Linked DNA regions of Homo sapiens: regions 1, 2, 4 and 5 are each linked to region 3. The links are contacts of gene promoters, found by promoter capture Hi-C in blood cells and fetal thymus (Javierre and others, 2016). All regions are on one chromosome and are shown on one strand. Each heading gives the region's core, a stretch centred on a gene start or on the middle of the fragment in contact. The rest is flanking DNA. Distances are from core to core; before and after follow the strand shown. Region 1 holds the start of LOC124903674 (a long non-coding RNA gene). Region 2 overlaps GSG1L (GSG1 like). Region 3 holds the start of SBK1 (SH3 domain binding kinase 1). Region 4 overlaps GSG1L (GSG1 like). Region 5 overlaps SGF29 (SAGA complex associated factor 29).

Region 1 (2,700 bases), core at 154-2,653, 320 kb after region 3:
AGCAGGCACTGTTCCGGGCATTACACAGCTCCATCCCGTGAGGCAGAGGTGACTGTTATTTGCATCTTACAGATGAGGAAATGGAGGTGGGGGTTTAAAATCCTTGCCCCTGGGACTAAGCTGGTGCAGGTCCTGGGAGCATCAGCAGTGATTGATTGAGTCACAGCCTCACCACTGCAGCCAGACCTGAACTTCCTCACAGCTCAGCAACACCCAGCAGGTCACTGAATGTCCCCAGGGCAAGTCCTCTACTCACTCACTATTAGCGGGTGCTCAGTAGAAGGCACCCGTTTTCCATTATTTTATTAACTATTTCTTGGCTATCGTCTCTGTGCAGGACTTTGTTCTACAGCAGTGACAAGAGCTGCCCTCGGGCAATGTAGTGCAAAGGTTGGGGTGGGAGAGACTAACGAGAGTCATAAAGCACCTAGCCGGTGAGATAGTAAGTATTCAGGTAAAGAAGCAGACGGGGAAGTACACAAGAGGTGCAATTTTATTTTATATTTTTAGAGACAGTTTCTTGCTCTTTTGCCCAGGCTATAGTGCAGTGGAGCGATCAGAGCTCACTGCAGCCTCCAACTCCTGGGACCAAGCGATCCTCCCACCTCAGCCTCCCCCCGTAGCTGGGACTACAGGCATATGCCACCATGCCCGGCTTCTCAGAGCTGCAATTTTAAATCGGGAGATAGAGAAGACCTCCCTGTGGAGGTGGCAGGTTATCAAGATAGGTGTAGAGAAGAACCTTCCAGTCAAAGGGAAAAGGCAGGTCCTGCTGTGCTCAGGAATGGCCAGAAATACTATCATCCCCATCTTAGAGACGGGGACAGGGCCGCAAAAGTGTCAGGGCGTTTCCTGGCTCCTCAACAAACAGCTGGATCCGAAGTGGTCTGGGGGATGAGCCGCCCTGCCTGGGGCGGACCTCCCCTGGAGCTCAAGGGCTCGCAGGGCGCACAGGCCTCTTGGGCCCCGGGTCCGGCTCAGGCTCGGGCTTGGTGCCAGCAAAGGGACCTGCGCGGTGCCCTGGGGCCGGGGAGGCCCGAAGGCCATCGCCCGTGCGGCGCGGCGCATAGAGGTCCCGGCGGAGGTCGGGGTGCAGCGGGAGTAGGAGGCGCGCCTATGGAGGGGGTTCCAGGCCCACTCCAACAGCGGCAGGATACGGAGGAGTTAGGGCGGCTCCAGGCAGGGGGGCGGACCCCAAGCCCTTGCCCGCCTGCCGCCGCCTGGTCTCCTTCCTTACCCGAAGGGTTGCCACGGCGGGCGGGAAGCCGTGCACGACGAGCACTTTCTCCCTGGGGAGGAGAACGGGGGTGTCCCTGTGAGCCCTGCCGCGCCCAACCGCGGGTCCCCTCCAATTCCACCCGAGAGCGGGGTCCTCACTGCCGGCTTCAGCCTAGCCCCAGGCCCTGCCCCTAAATGAAGTCACGCCCCCTGCACCTGCCCACCTCAGGCCGCGCCTCCAGCCCAGGTACCCACCTGTCCCCCCTCTTCTCTCTCCTGCGCTCCATCCGACCCCAGCATGCCCACCAAGACCCCTACGCTGGCCCGCATCCTGGATCATCACCTCCGCCCCAGCCAGCTCCTCCCCGGAGTTCCACCGCCAAGATTCCCAGGGCACTGTCTCCCCGTCATGCTCCTCCTCTGTGACAGTCCCGTCCCCACCCTGGACTCCCCACCCATGTCACAGGCATGCCCTTCCCTCTCATCAGGCTTGTGCCCAGCGGGGTCCGCCTCCTCCAGGAAGCCTTCCTCCTGGCACAGAGACCCTTCCGGTCTCACCAGGAGTGCAATGGCCCGATTTGGCTCACTGCAACCTCTGCCGCTGCCCCCTGCCCCATCTTTCAAGCAATTCTCCCGCCTCAGCCTTTTGAGTAGCTGTAATTACAGGCACGTGCCACCATGCCCGACTAATTTTTGTATTTCTATTACAGACGGGGTTTCACCATGTTGGTCAGGCTGGTCTCGAACTCCTGACCTCAAGTGATCCAACCGCTTTGGCCTCCCAATGTGTTGGGTTTACAGGCTTGAGCCACCGCGCCAGGCCTGGGCCCTGCCTTTTGTGTGGCCCCCATTGTGCTGCTGGACCTGACAAGCAGGGCTGACAGTGAACCCCATATAAACGTGGCCCTGATGACGGGGGTTCAGGCCGTAGAGCAGGTAGATGCTGAAGAAGCGCCCCGGCCTAGCCGCGACTCCCGTGGAACTCTTTGAATTTTAGGAAATTCTCCTTAAACACACTTCTGGTTCAGCACCGACATCAAGAAGAGAGCCTCTCCACCACCTGCAAACTCACTTTGTCCCTCCCTGGTTCTTCCCGCTGGGCGCCCACTATGCTGCGGTCTCGCCCATCTGTAGCTGAGCCCAGCAGCCCCTGTAGGACACCTGGCCGAACGGGTCACAGTCCTGCTGGGCTCACTCGGGAGATGGAGGCTCCCAGGGGCTCCTCCAACAGCCCCAGGGCTGCTCTCTGGTCACTGCACCTGCCTGGGCTGCCACTCTGCTTCTCATCTGCACAGCAGGAGAAAAACTCCACAGAGCGTGCTGTGGGCGGGGCCGGCTGTGCAGGGAGCACCGGGTCCTTGCCCTGCCCCTGTCCTCCACACTCCCCTACAGGGACTGTGCCCCTGGCTGCATCCTGCATTTTCCTCCTTTTGTCCACAGGTATGAGGTAGATGACATTGATGAAGAAGGCAAAGCGTGAGT
Region 2 (2,700 bases), core at 26-2,525, 280 kb before region 3:
GCCCCACGGTTTCTGAGCCCCCAAGGTCACTGCTTCCTCCAGGCAGCCACCCCTCCCCTAGGCTGAGTCAGTCACGCCCCCCTCTGCCCTCCCACCACCCCTTAAACACAGCCTATTAATACCCTGTTATGGCACACATCATGTGGTATTCTAATTGCATTAGCCTGTGAAAGCAGCAGCTCTGGAGGCAGCCCAAAATCCCAATGCTGAAACTCACTTGCTGTGTGATCTTAGGCCAGTCACTCAACCTCTCTGAGCCTCCATTTTCTCATCCGTGGTGAACCGGTGACAATATTGATTAAATATTTAACATGTGTAGACAGAATGTCTATTGGGCCAGGCAGTCTGCTAGGCACTGAACACACAAAACTGTACCTGTCATCATAGAGCTTACAAACTTAGAGTGCAGATTGACCTGAAATGAAATTTTATACAAAAAAAAAAGATACTTCTGGCTGGGCATGGTGGCTCATGCCTGTAATCCCAGTGCTTTGGGAAGCCAAGATAGAAGGATCACTCAAGGCCAAGAGTTCCAGGCCAGCCTCAGCTACACAGCAAGACCGTGTCTCTATGAAAAAATTTTTAAAATAAATTAAAATTATCGAGGGTGGCAGCATGCATCTGTAGTCCCAGCTACTCGGGAAGCTGAGGTGGGAGGATCACTTGAGCCCAAGAGTTCAAGGCTGCAGTGAGTTATGATCATGCCACTGTACTCCAGCCTGGGCAACAGAGCAAGAACTCTCAAAAAAAAAAAAAAAAGTTACTTCAATGCAATTTATAAAACTTACAAGTGCCCAGGTGCAGTGGCTCACACCTGTAATCCCATCACTTTGGGAGGCCGAGGCGGGTGGATCACCTGAGGTCAGGAGTTCGAGACCAGCCTGACCAATATGGTGAAACCCTCTCTCTACTAAATACAAAAAATTAGCCGTGCATGGTGGCATATGCCTGTAATCCCAGTTACTTGGGAGGCCGAGGCAAGAGAATCGCTTGAACCCAGGAGGTGGAGGTTGCAGTGAGCTTTCACCATTGCACTCCAGCCTGGGCCACAAGAGCAAAACTCTGACTCAAAAAAAAAAAAAACTTACAAGGGAGAAATATAATACACATGTGGATAATGGAGAGAGCCAACCTAGTCTGGGAGAGGTAACATTTATGGAGAGTTATACAGTAGGAGCCAGCTAGGCAAGTGAGGAGAGCTGGCGAGCAGAGGGAGGTGGGCGTCAGGAGGAAGAGATGGCATGTGCCCCTGCCACAGGAAGAGAATCTCCTTTTCCAGAAACCCAAAGAGATCATGACTATAATGTTTGGGGGTGGAGCAACTATGCTTTGGGTCTTCAGGGCCCAGAACAGTGCTTGGCAGGGAAATGTTACTAGACCCTGTTGCCCACCACTCTCTGATTTGGTGACTGTACGTCCACACATGGGCTTGGCATTTTCCAAGCACTGACCACGTGCCAGGTGCCACACAGGACATGAAGGAAGATGCGAAGATGGACCAGCCCTGGATCCTGCTCTCTCAGCATTTCATCTCCCACAGCATGGGGACCCCAAGCGCCACGTTAAGGCATCAAGGTTTGTATAATAGCAAACACTAGCGATTGTACACCAAAGCTGGTTTCTCTTCTTCCATGGCATTGCAGACACCCAGGCCTCCCAGACAGGAGGCATGGCCATGCAAAGCTCTTGCCAATGGCTTGTGAATGGACAGTCCGTGTCAGGGTGAAGACATCAGGCATCTCCTGCCTTCCTATGTGGCTCACTTCAGCCACACTGACAACGACCAGGGTGCCCTAGGGCATACAGAGCAATGACTTGGAAGGAGCCTGGCTCCTGGAATGACTGGCAGGGGCAGAGCTGCCCCACCAACCAGGACTACGACCTAAGAGAGAAACAGCTGCCCTGTTCTTCAAGCCTCCATATTGCAGGATCTCTTTGTTACAGCAGCATAGCCTTACCCTGACTCATCTAGAGCCTGAGAAAGGGACAGGGACCTAGGAGTTTGGAGGAGGAAGTGGCCATTTTGTGCTGCAAGAATCAAGGAAGACTTCCTGGAGGAAGATGACATTTGCACTAAGCTGAAAGGAAGTATGTATTCTGAATAAATAAAGGTGTATCCATGGGAGGACATACTAATAAACAGTTATTGAAGAGCACGAGGCAGATCCACACGTGCAGACACGGGAACATGCCTCAGTTATGTTGTCATGGGGAGAAAGCAGAGAGTAGAACTGTACCTCTCTGCTTCCATCTCTTTACATAGGTATGCGGTTGATAATAGAGAAAACAACTGGAAAAATACAGACTAAACTGAAGAGTGGGGATAAGCACACGGAAAGGGGAGTCATTTTCTTAATTTTCATTTTTTTAAGAGACAGGGTCTCGCTCTGTCACCCACGCTGGAGTGCAGTAGGGCAATCAAAGCTCTCTGTAACCTCCAACTCCTGGGATCCAACAATCCTCTCATCTCAGCCTCCCAAGTAGCTGGGACTACAGGCACGCTATTTTTTTTTTTTTTTTTTTTTTTTGGTAGGGACGGGGTCTCACTATGTTGTCTAGGCTGGTCTTGAACTCCTAGGCTCAGGCAATCCTCCCACCTCAGCCTTCCAAAGTGCTGGGATTACAGGCATTAACCACCGTGCCAGCCTCATTTGTCCCACTGGGCTGTTATATCTTTTGGCAATGAATACCTATTTGGTA
Region 3 (2,700 bases), core at 50-2,549:
AAACCATCATTCTCAGCAAACTATCGCAAGGACAAAAAACCAAACACCGCATGTTCTCACTCATAGGTGGGAATTGAACAAAGAGAACACATGGACACAGGAAGGGGAACATCACACACCAGGGACTGTTGTGGGGTGGGGGGAAGGGGGAGGGATAGCATTAGGAGATATACCTAATGCTAAATGACGAGTTAATGGGTGCAGCACACCAACATGGCACACGTATACATACGTAACAAACCTGCATGTTGTGCATATGTACCCTAAAACTTAAAGTATAATAATAATTAAAAAAAAGAATGAAAAAGAAATGCTTTTGAAGCTTGAAGCTAAAAAAACAAAAAAAAAAGAAAGAAATAGGGAAGGCGTCCTATTGGGGCTTTCTCACTAGGGAAAGAGTGAGCTGCAGGGAGGAGAAAGAACAGGGCCTGGAAGGACGAGCTGTCCCTATCTCATCTCTGTCCCCATCCACCCACTTCATCCAGGCCACCAATTTCCGGTTATCAAACAGACAATGCAACATCCCTTACACCTGCTGTACCTCTGCCTAGAATCTCCTTTCTTCCCTTCTATCCGGCGAGCAGTTCCTCCCAGCTGCACTCCTGGACTAGTCACTGCCTATTTGCAGCAGGGATCGCAAAGGCGACCTCAGTTGGATAGGGCAACCACCCAGGCCCAAGTTTATGACCTCTTCCCCAAGAAGACTGTGAGTTCTCTGACGTCTCGCTGGAAATAGGATGCATGGATGGATGGATGGATGGATGGACGGACGGATGGATGGATGGATGGAAGCGCAGGCAGGCAGGCGGACGCATGGATGAATGAAATGCATATCCGAATGCAGAACCTGGATTTGTTTTCCCTCCTTCAAACACACACAGGCTCCGCCCCACTAGCACAGACCGGGACAGTCTGGGGCAGTCTCGTCCCGCAGGGCCCAGAAAGCTGGACCAGGTGACCCTCTCAGACTCCCCCGAGTCCTCTGTAACCTCGTTCTCGCCCCCTCGTGGGCTCTGACCTAGAAAAGGAGTGGGGTGGGTGGGGGGTGGGGGGTGGGAGCCAGCTCGGGAGCCACCGGCGCTAGGACCCAGCGCGGCCGGAAGGGGGTGGGGGCGCCGCGCGGGGAGAATCTGCGCTCCGCGGCGCGCGGCGGGAGGGCGGGCGCGCGGCGGGTGAGCGCGCTTGCGCGAGGGCGCGCGCCGAGCGGGACGGACAAAGGGGCGGGCGGCGGCGCGCGAGCCGGAGGGCGGAGCCGCGGGCCGGGCGGGCAGGTGCGCGCTGGCTGGAGGGCGGAGCCGCGATGCCGCGATGGAGCGCAGCCCGGGCGGGCGCCGGGGCCGGGGCCCGAGCGCCAGGCGGAGCGCGAGCTGGAGCCGCAGCCGGAGCCCGGGCCAGGCCGGGGGCCGGGAGCGCAGGGCCGGGCTGCTCGTAGCGGCGGCGACCGAGCCCCCCAGCGGCTGAGGGGCTTCCAGCGCCCGCCGGTGGCCGGGACCCACTAAAGCCCCCGCAGCCGAGGAGTGCGGGGAGCCCCCTTCCACATCCAGGATCCGGCGAGCCTCGGGGAAGAGGGGGGGCCCTCCCGGATCCGACACCGAGCGACTCCCCTGCGGGGAAAGCGGAGACTTCCTCGGTATTTAGAAGACAGCAAGCCCCCTACGGCACCGCAAGGACTCCCCCTCCTCAGTCTGGGCCCCCGCCCCAAGACCTAGAACGCAGTGCCCCCAGGCCGGGATTGCGAGAACCCCCTCCCAAGATCCGGTCATTACAACTCCACACCTCAAGACAAGAAGACCCAGCTCAGAACGCCCCTAGATCAGGGGATCCCAATTCCCCCCAACTCCGGTACATAGAAATCCCAAATCTAGGCAGCCGGGGACAGCAAGAGACACTCTCACCAGCAAGAAGCCTCGGGGATCCCCCCCCTAAAGCTCCAGGACTTGGGCGACTGAGCCCCTGGCGGCACCGCTTGCACCCCGGTCCATGGTCGTGGCGCCCTGAGCCCCCGGGGCCGGGCAGACGAAGACCGCGACGGCGCCCAGGCCCCCTGCCGCGGCGTCCCCGCGGCCCCAGCCCAGGTAAGCCGGGCCCAGGTGAGGGGCGGCAGGTGAGTGGCCACCGAGGTCCCCATAGCCCTGCAGGTGGGGAAGGAAGTATCGGGTTGCGCGCTCCCCCTTCCCCAGCGTCGCCATGGAGCCGAGGCTGAAGGACGTCTCTTTGTGTCTCGCTTGGAGGAGCCGCCCCCTCCTCCTCTCCCTTCCCCCACCCCACTCCCTAGCCTTGAGGCTCGGGCGCAGCTCCCCGGCCCCACGGAGGAGTGGTGGTGGAGCCCGTTGTGCCATGGAGAGGGGGGAAGAGGGCGGAGAGTCCCCCCCCAAAAGCTGCGAGCCTGGAGGTTGGCCCCCAGGTCCTTGGAGTGTGAATACCCCTCCCCCACGGCCAAGCTGAGCTTCTAGTGAAGTCCCCCCGAGAGGGGAAAATTTGGGGGTGCCCACAGGTGAGGGGGGCTGCCTTATGTGGCCCTGGGTGATGGCTGGGGCTTCGGGTGTGTGTCTTTGTCTGTGAGAGTGCGGGGAAGGGGTGTGTTTGAGCGGATGAATGGGAATCGCATCTTCCCTGTGACTCTGCTGCCCGACCCAGGCCACACTGGCGGTCTTTACCTAAACCATACTTTGTACTCCCTGTGGGACAGGGAGGGAGTAA
Region 4 (2,700 bases), core at 6-2,505, 300 kb before region 3:
GCAAAATGTATTTTAGGTTAAGAAATGTTATTAAAAAGACATGAGGTTGTGGTTTTTGCTGAAGGAAAAGTAATTTTTTCTAGTTTAGAGGTTATTTAAAGGTTGATTCAAAATGAAGGAGAAATGGTATAGATAAAAATAAATGAATCTAAAAGTTGAGGTAAGAAAAAAGTAGAAAAAAGTCTTATAAGCAGTTATAAAGGATTTGTGGGAATCTTATCTGTGTGGTCCAAAGCTGACTGAAATTGGATGGATTTGTTTATAGGGTTTTATTAAAATTAGCTTTTGTATTGATAATACACTAATATAAAAGTAAATTTTCATTTTCTCCTTTAAACAAGAATTTATGTCATATTAATAAGAGAGAAAATTATTTTGTTTACCTTTTCAGTCAACTGCAATTAAGAAAAAAAAAAAAAGGAGAGGGCTGGGCCTGGTGGCTCACGTCTGTAATCCCAGCACTTTGGGAGGCCGAGGTGGGCGGATCACGAGGTCAGGAGATCAAGACCATCCTGGCTAACATGGTGAAACCCCGTCTCTACTAAAAATACAAAAGTTAGCCAGCCATGGTGGTGCATGCCTGTAATCCCTGCTCCTCGGGAGGCTGAGGCAGGAGAATTGCTTGAACCCGGGAGGCGGATGTTGCAGTGAGCCGAGATTGTGCTGCTGCACTCCAGCCTAGGTGACAGAGCAAGACTCTGTCTCAAAAAAAAAAAAAAAGAAAAGAAAAAAAGAAAAAGAAAGAAAAAAAGGAGAGAAGGAGAGACAGTTTCACGCTGTCTTTATTAGGGCTTTGGATTTTTTGGAAAACTCAGTCTCCTCTCTATCAAAGAGTAAAGGTTTTTGCTTTTTGCCATCTTTGAGTTATCACTTTGGCTAAATGACTATTATTTTGCAGTCATCCAGGATCCTATTTTGATAAAGTGTTTTAAAGCTTTCTTACTTTGATATCAAGTGTTTTAACCTTTGATATTTGACATACTTCCCAAAAGCAAATTTCAAATTCTAAACTTAAGTCTTCTTGACCCAAACTAACTTAGACATAACAAATAGGCCCCTGAAAGGCCAAGAGAGATATACTAGGCTTATTTGTTATGTTAAAATTATACGGACCAGGAGCGGTGGTTCACACCTGTAATCCCAGCACTTTGGGAGGCCAAGGCAGGTGGATCACCTGAGGTCAGGAGTTCGAGACCAGCCTGCCCAACATGGTGAAACCCTGCCTCTGCTAAAAATACAAAAATTAGCCAGGCATGGTGGCAAATGCTTGTAGTCCCAGCTACTTGGGAGGCTGAGGCACGAGAATCACTTGAACCCAGGATGCAGAGGTTGCAGTGTGCTGAGATCACACCACTGTACTCCAGCCTGGGCAACAGAGTGAGACTCAGTCTAAAAAAAAAAAACAACAAACAATTATATGGGAAACGTTGTCAAATAAGAAATGGTGTTTAACTTTCTTTGAGTTGTATTTGTATAAATGTGTTATTAATATGTGTCCCAAAATTGGAGGAAATTCCTAAATGTCTGATATGTCTTGGTATATGCAGTTAATTGCTTTATTCTGATTCTTTTTCCTAAAAGCTTTTTGCAAACCCTAAAGTGTGGTGTCTTCGAGGAAATTCATGGAAAGGACCCTGACAAGTCATCTTGAATAACAGGTTTCTGATAACTTTGGAGATGATACCATTAGGCTAGTAGAAACGTCCAGGGCTCTTAATTAGCTGATGTGTTTATGAGGATTGCTAACCCAACATCAAGCAGAACAAGAATTACTCACATGGGTCTGAAATAATAAAGGACTGAAATCATTTTTATGACTTTTTGTTTGAACCATTGTTGTTTCTTTTTATGTTTTGTTTTTCAGAGTCAAAGAAATTTTTTTCTTTCTTTTGAGCTATTTATATCTACAGCAATTGGGCAAAGTATACACTTGTGAGCAAAATGGAGACATTTACATTTCCCTCTAATTTCTCCATAATTTGGAAACTATTCATGAATATTCTTATTTTATTATAATATAGTTATTAACATACATTCACTAAGAATACGTTTTCTTTTGCCACTGGACACATTGGAAATACTTATTATGCCAAGGTTTTGACTAGAATGGTGTATTTTTAGATATGACCATTCTGCTTTGAGGAATTGAGGTTGACTTAATAGAGCCAATAAAAGGTCCTCTGGAAAGACTGGCCTAGTTCCTTGTCTTATGGTTCCCTTGCAAGATTCCTGACCTGTGATAAATAAAGAATGACACTTTCTAGCAGGTCCAGGAACCTCAAGATATTTTGGGACCTCAAGAAGAAAAGAATTCACCCAATTCATACAGGTAGTTTAGGCACATTTTGATGACGAATCTGTGACTTGGCTTCCTAAATCCAGACCTTTAAAAGTCTAATTCAAGTCTTTGCTATTGTGAATAGTGCTGCAATAAACATATGTGTGCATGTGTCTTTATAGCAGCATGTTTTGCAATCCTTTGGGTATATACCCAGTAATGGGATGGCTGGGTCAAATGGTATGTAACAAACCTGCACGTTGTGCACATGTACCCTAAAACTTAAAGTATAATTTAAAAAAAAAAGTCTAATTCAAAATTCCTTATGTAAGTTCCAGCAAAGCCAACTTAAAAAGAGTCTATGTGGTCAATCGCTAGTCTTGCTCCACCTTATGCAAATAATCGGGCCAAGTACAGTAAGG
Region 5 (2,700 bases), core at 58-2,557, 280 kb after region 3:
GATTTCCAGTTTGTCTATTGTTCCTTGTGTAAGAGTACATACTTACCATAAATCCTGCCATGGGGTCACACCATCTTGATGTTATCATACTTCAGTTGTCCAGTGCATCCCTTCTGAACCACCCTTTCCCTATGGTATACAAGCCCTGGGGGTACTGGCACCAGGATCCACCATCTGGCTTCACCACCACCTGAGACACAGATGTAGCTTCTGTTCCTAGGTCTCTAAATGTTTCTAAGGGGATATGTTCTTCTCTATATGACAATGCATTGTGTAAAGCTGTGGTGGTAAAAACAGTGTCGTACATGTGGGACAACACAGATCAATATCACAAGCAGCTAAAAGAAAAAGAAATTGGTCTTCATAAAAATTAAAAACATGTGCTTCCAAGGACACAACTCAAGACAACTGGCTGGACACGGTGGCTCACACCTATAAGCCCAGCACTTTGGGAGGCCAAGGCGGGTGGATCACTTGAGGTTGAGAGTTTGAGACCAGCCTGGTCAACATGGTGAAACCCTGTCTCTACTAAAAGAAATACAAAAATTAGCTGGGCTTTGTGGTGCGTGCCTTGTAATCCCAGCTACTCAGGAGGCTGAGGCAGGAAAATTGCTTGAAGCCGGGAGGCAGAGGTTGCAGTGAGCTGAGATTGAGTCACTGCACTCCAGCTTGGGTGGCAGAGTGAGACTCCGTCTCAAAACAAACAAGCAAACAAAAAAGACAAATAACCAAACTTTAAAATGGTAATATATACAGATGGCCAACAGCATATGAAAAGATACTCAATGCCATTAACCGTTAGGGACACACAAATCAAAACCACAATGAGACTCTACTTCAGACTCACTAGGATGGCTGTAATCAAAAAGAGAGAGGCCAGGCATGGTGGCTCACACGTGTAATCCCAGCATTTTGGGAGGCCAAGGCAGGAGGATTGGTTGAGCTCAGGAATTCGACACCAGCCTGGGCAACATAGTGTGACCCTGCCTCTGCCAAAAATAAAAATGACAGAGAGAGACAATAGCATGTGTTGGCGCAAATGCAGAGTGGGAATGCACATTGCAGGTGGGAATGTAAAATGGTCACCCAGTTGGAAACAGCATGCAGCTCCTCAGAAGGTTAAACAGAGTTTATGTTTAATACACTTATTAAGATAAACATAGTGTAAATACGTTAAAAAAAACACATTATTAATTCTCATAGATATGTACCCAGAAATGAAAACATGTCATGAATACAAAGAAGGAAACAACAGACACTGGGCGGGGAGGGTAGGAGGAGGGAGAAGCGGGAAAGATAACCATCGGGTACTGGGCATAATACCTGGGTGATGAAATTATCTGTACAACAGACCCCCATGACACATATTTACCTATGCAACAAACCTTCACATGTATCCCCAAAACCTAAAATTAAAATTAAAAAAGAAGGGCCGGGCGCAGTGGCTCACACCTGTAATCCCAGCACTTTGGGAGGTCAAGGCAGGTGGATCACCTAAGGTCAGGAGTTTGAGACCAGCCTGGCCAACGTGGTGAAACCCCATCTCTACTAAAAATACAAAAAGTAGCCAGCGTGGTGATGGGTGCCTGTAATCCCAGCTACTTGGGAGGCTGAGGCAGGAGAATTGCTTGAACGAGAGAGGCAGAGATTGCAGTGAGCCGAGATCACACCACTGCACTCCAAGTTGGGCAACAAGGCTAGAATCTGTCCCAAAAAAGAAAAACAAAGAAAACGTGCCCACACAAAAACCTGTACACAACGCTCATAGCAGCATTATTCATAATAGCCAAAAAAATAGACGTAACCCAATGTCCATCAGTTCATGAACTGACATGTAAAATATGATATAGCAAAACAATGGAGTTATTCAGCAATAAAAGCACAGGCCTGGCATGGTGGCTCACGCCTGTAATCCCAGCACTTTGGGAGGCTGAGGCAGGTGGATCACCCGAGGTCAGGCGTATCACCCAAGGTCAGACATTCGAGACCGGCCTGGCTAACATGTCGAAACCCCGTCTCTACTAAGAATACAGAAATTAGCCGGGCGTGGTGGTGGGCGCCTATAGTCCCAGCTACTTGGGAGGCAGGAGAAACACTTGAACCCGGGAGGCGGAGGTTGCAGTGAGCCAACATCGTGCCATTGCACTCCAGCCTCGGTGACACAGCGAGACTCTGTCTCATTAAAAAAGAAAAAAAAAAGTGCAGACTACATAAATCTAAAGAGACAGAAAGTAAATTAATATTTGCCTGGGGGTGGGGTGGCCATGTACCATGTATTTAAAGTGTGCAATTCATTGGTTTTTAGTATATTCAGAGTTGTGCAACCATCAGCACAATTTTAGAACATTTTCAACACCTGGCCAAAAAAAAAAAACAAAAAAACCCATACTCATTAATAGTCGCTGTCCTTTCTCTCCCAACCCTTCCCCACCCAGCTTTCTATGGATTCGGCTATTCTGGATATTTCACGTAAATGGAAACACAATTATGTGGTCTTCTGTGATTGCAGCTTCTTTCACTTAGCATAATGTTTTCAAGGTTCATCCATGTCATAGCGTGTCTCAGTACTTCATTTCTTTTTACTGTCAAGTAATATTCCACTGTATGGATAATATCACACTTTATGCATTCGTGTAGTTTCTCTACCTCCTTCCCAACTCTTGTCTCTTTTTTATTGTAGGTGTGAAGTGGTGTCTTCAG

What was found. The method cuts DNA at HindIII sites, captures the fragments that hold promoters and counts their contacts. A CHiCAGO score of 5 or more calls a contact.
Region 1: a contact is called between a fragment that was not itself captured here and the fragment with the promoter of SBK1 in region 3, in 5 of 17 cell types (M0 macrophages, M1 macrophages, endothelial precursors and 2 more). The highest score is 6.8, in M0 macrophages.
Region 2: a contact is called between a fragment that was not itself captured here and the fragment with the promoter of SBK1 in region 3, in 2 of 17 cell types (M1 macrophages and neutrophils). The highest score is 5.3, in M1 macrophages.
Region 4: a fragment that was not itself captured here is called in contact with the fragment with the promoter of SBK1 in region 3 in 2 of 17 cell types (neutrophils and M1 macrophages); the score reaches 6.1 in neutrophils.
Region 5: a fragment that was not itself captured here is called in contact with the fragment with the promoter of SBK1 in region 3 in 6 of 17 cell types (endothelial precursors, naive CD4 T cells, megakaryocytes and 3 more); the score reaches 8.7 in endothelial precursors.

Annotation. Positions count from the first base shown.
Region 1 is chr16:28,612,680-28,615,379 of GRCh38, forward strand. LOC107984835 (a long non-coding RNA gene) reads left to right here. Exons shown (of 2, transcript XR_007065036.1): 2 at 2,659-2,700. LOC124903674 (a long non-coding RNA gene) reads right to left here and starts at 1,852. Exons shown (of 2, transcript XR_007065047.1): 1 at 1,525-1,852; 2 at 1-1,289. It also overlaps a transcript of SULT1A1 not described here. RefSeq lists enhancers at 1-250, 498-1,048, 1,049-1,598, 2,587-2,700. The HindIII fragment of the contact is 7,854 bases long and covers 1-2,700 here.
Region 2 is chr16:28,012,151-28,014,850 of GRCh38, forward strand. The region is part of intron 1 of GSG1L (GSG1 like); the gene reads right to left. Among named protein-coding and RNA genes, the nearest start is that of GSG1L, 50 kb to the right of the region's middle. The HindIII fragment of the contact is 3,230 bases long and covers 1-2,700 here.
Region 3 is chr16:28,291,226-28,293,925 of GRCh38, forward strand. It overlaps SBK1 (SH3 domain binding kinase 1), which reads left to right and starts at 1,300. Exons shown (of 4, transcript NM_001024401.3): 1 at 1,300-2,075. It overlaps LOC124903670 (a long non-coding RNA gene), which reads right to left and starts at 840. Exons shown (of 2, transcript XR_007065033.1): 1 at 542-840. RefSeq lists silencers at 792-963, 1,171-1,400. The HindIII fragment of the contact is 5,383 bases long and covers 321-2,700 here.
Region 4 is chr16:27,988,348-27,991,047 of GRCh38, forward strand. All of the region lies in intron 1 of GSG1L (GSG1 like), which reads right to left. Among named protein-coding and RNA genes, the nearest start is that of GSG1L, 74 kb to the right of the region's middle. The HindIII fragment of the contact is 647 bases long and covers 933-1,579 here.
Region 5 is chr16:28,574,989-28,577,688 of GRCh38, forward strand. All of the region lies in intron 1 of SGF29 (SAGA complex associated factor 29), which reads left to right. Among named protein-coding and RNA genes, the nearest start is that of SULT1A2, 21 kb to the right of the region's middle. The HindIII fragment of the contact is 4,261 bases long and covers 1-2,700 here.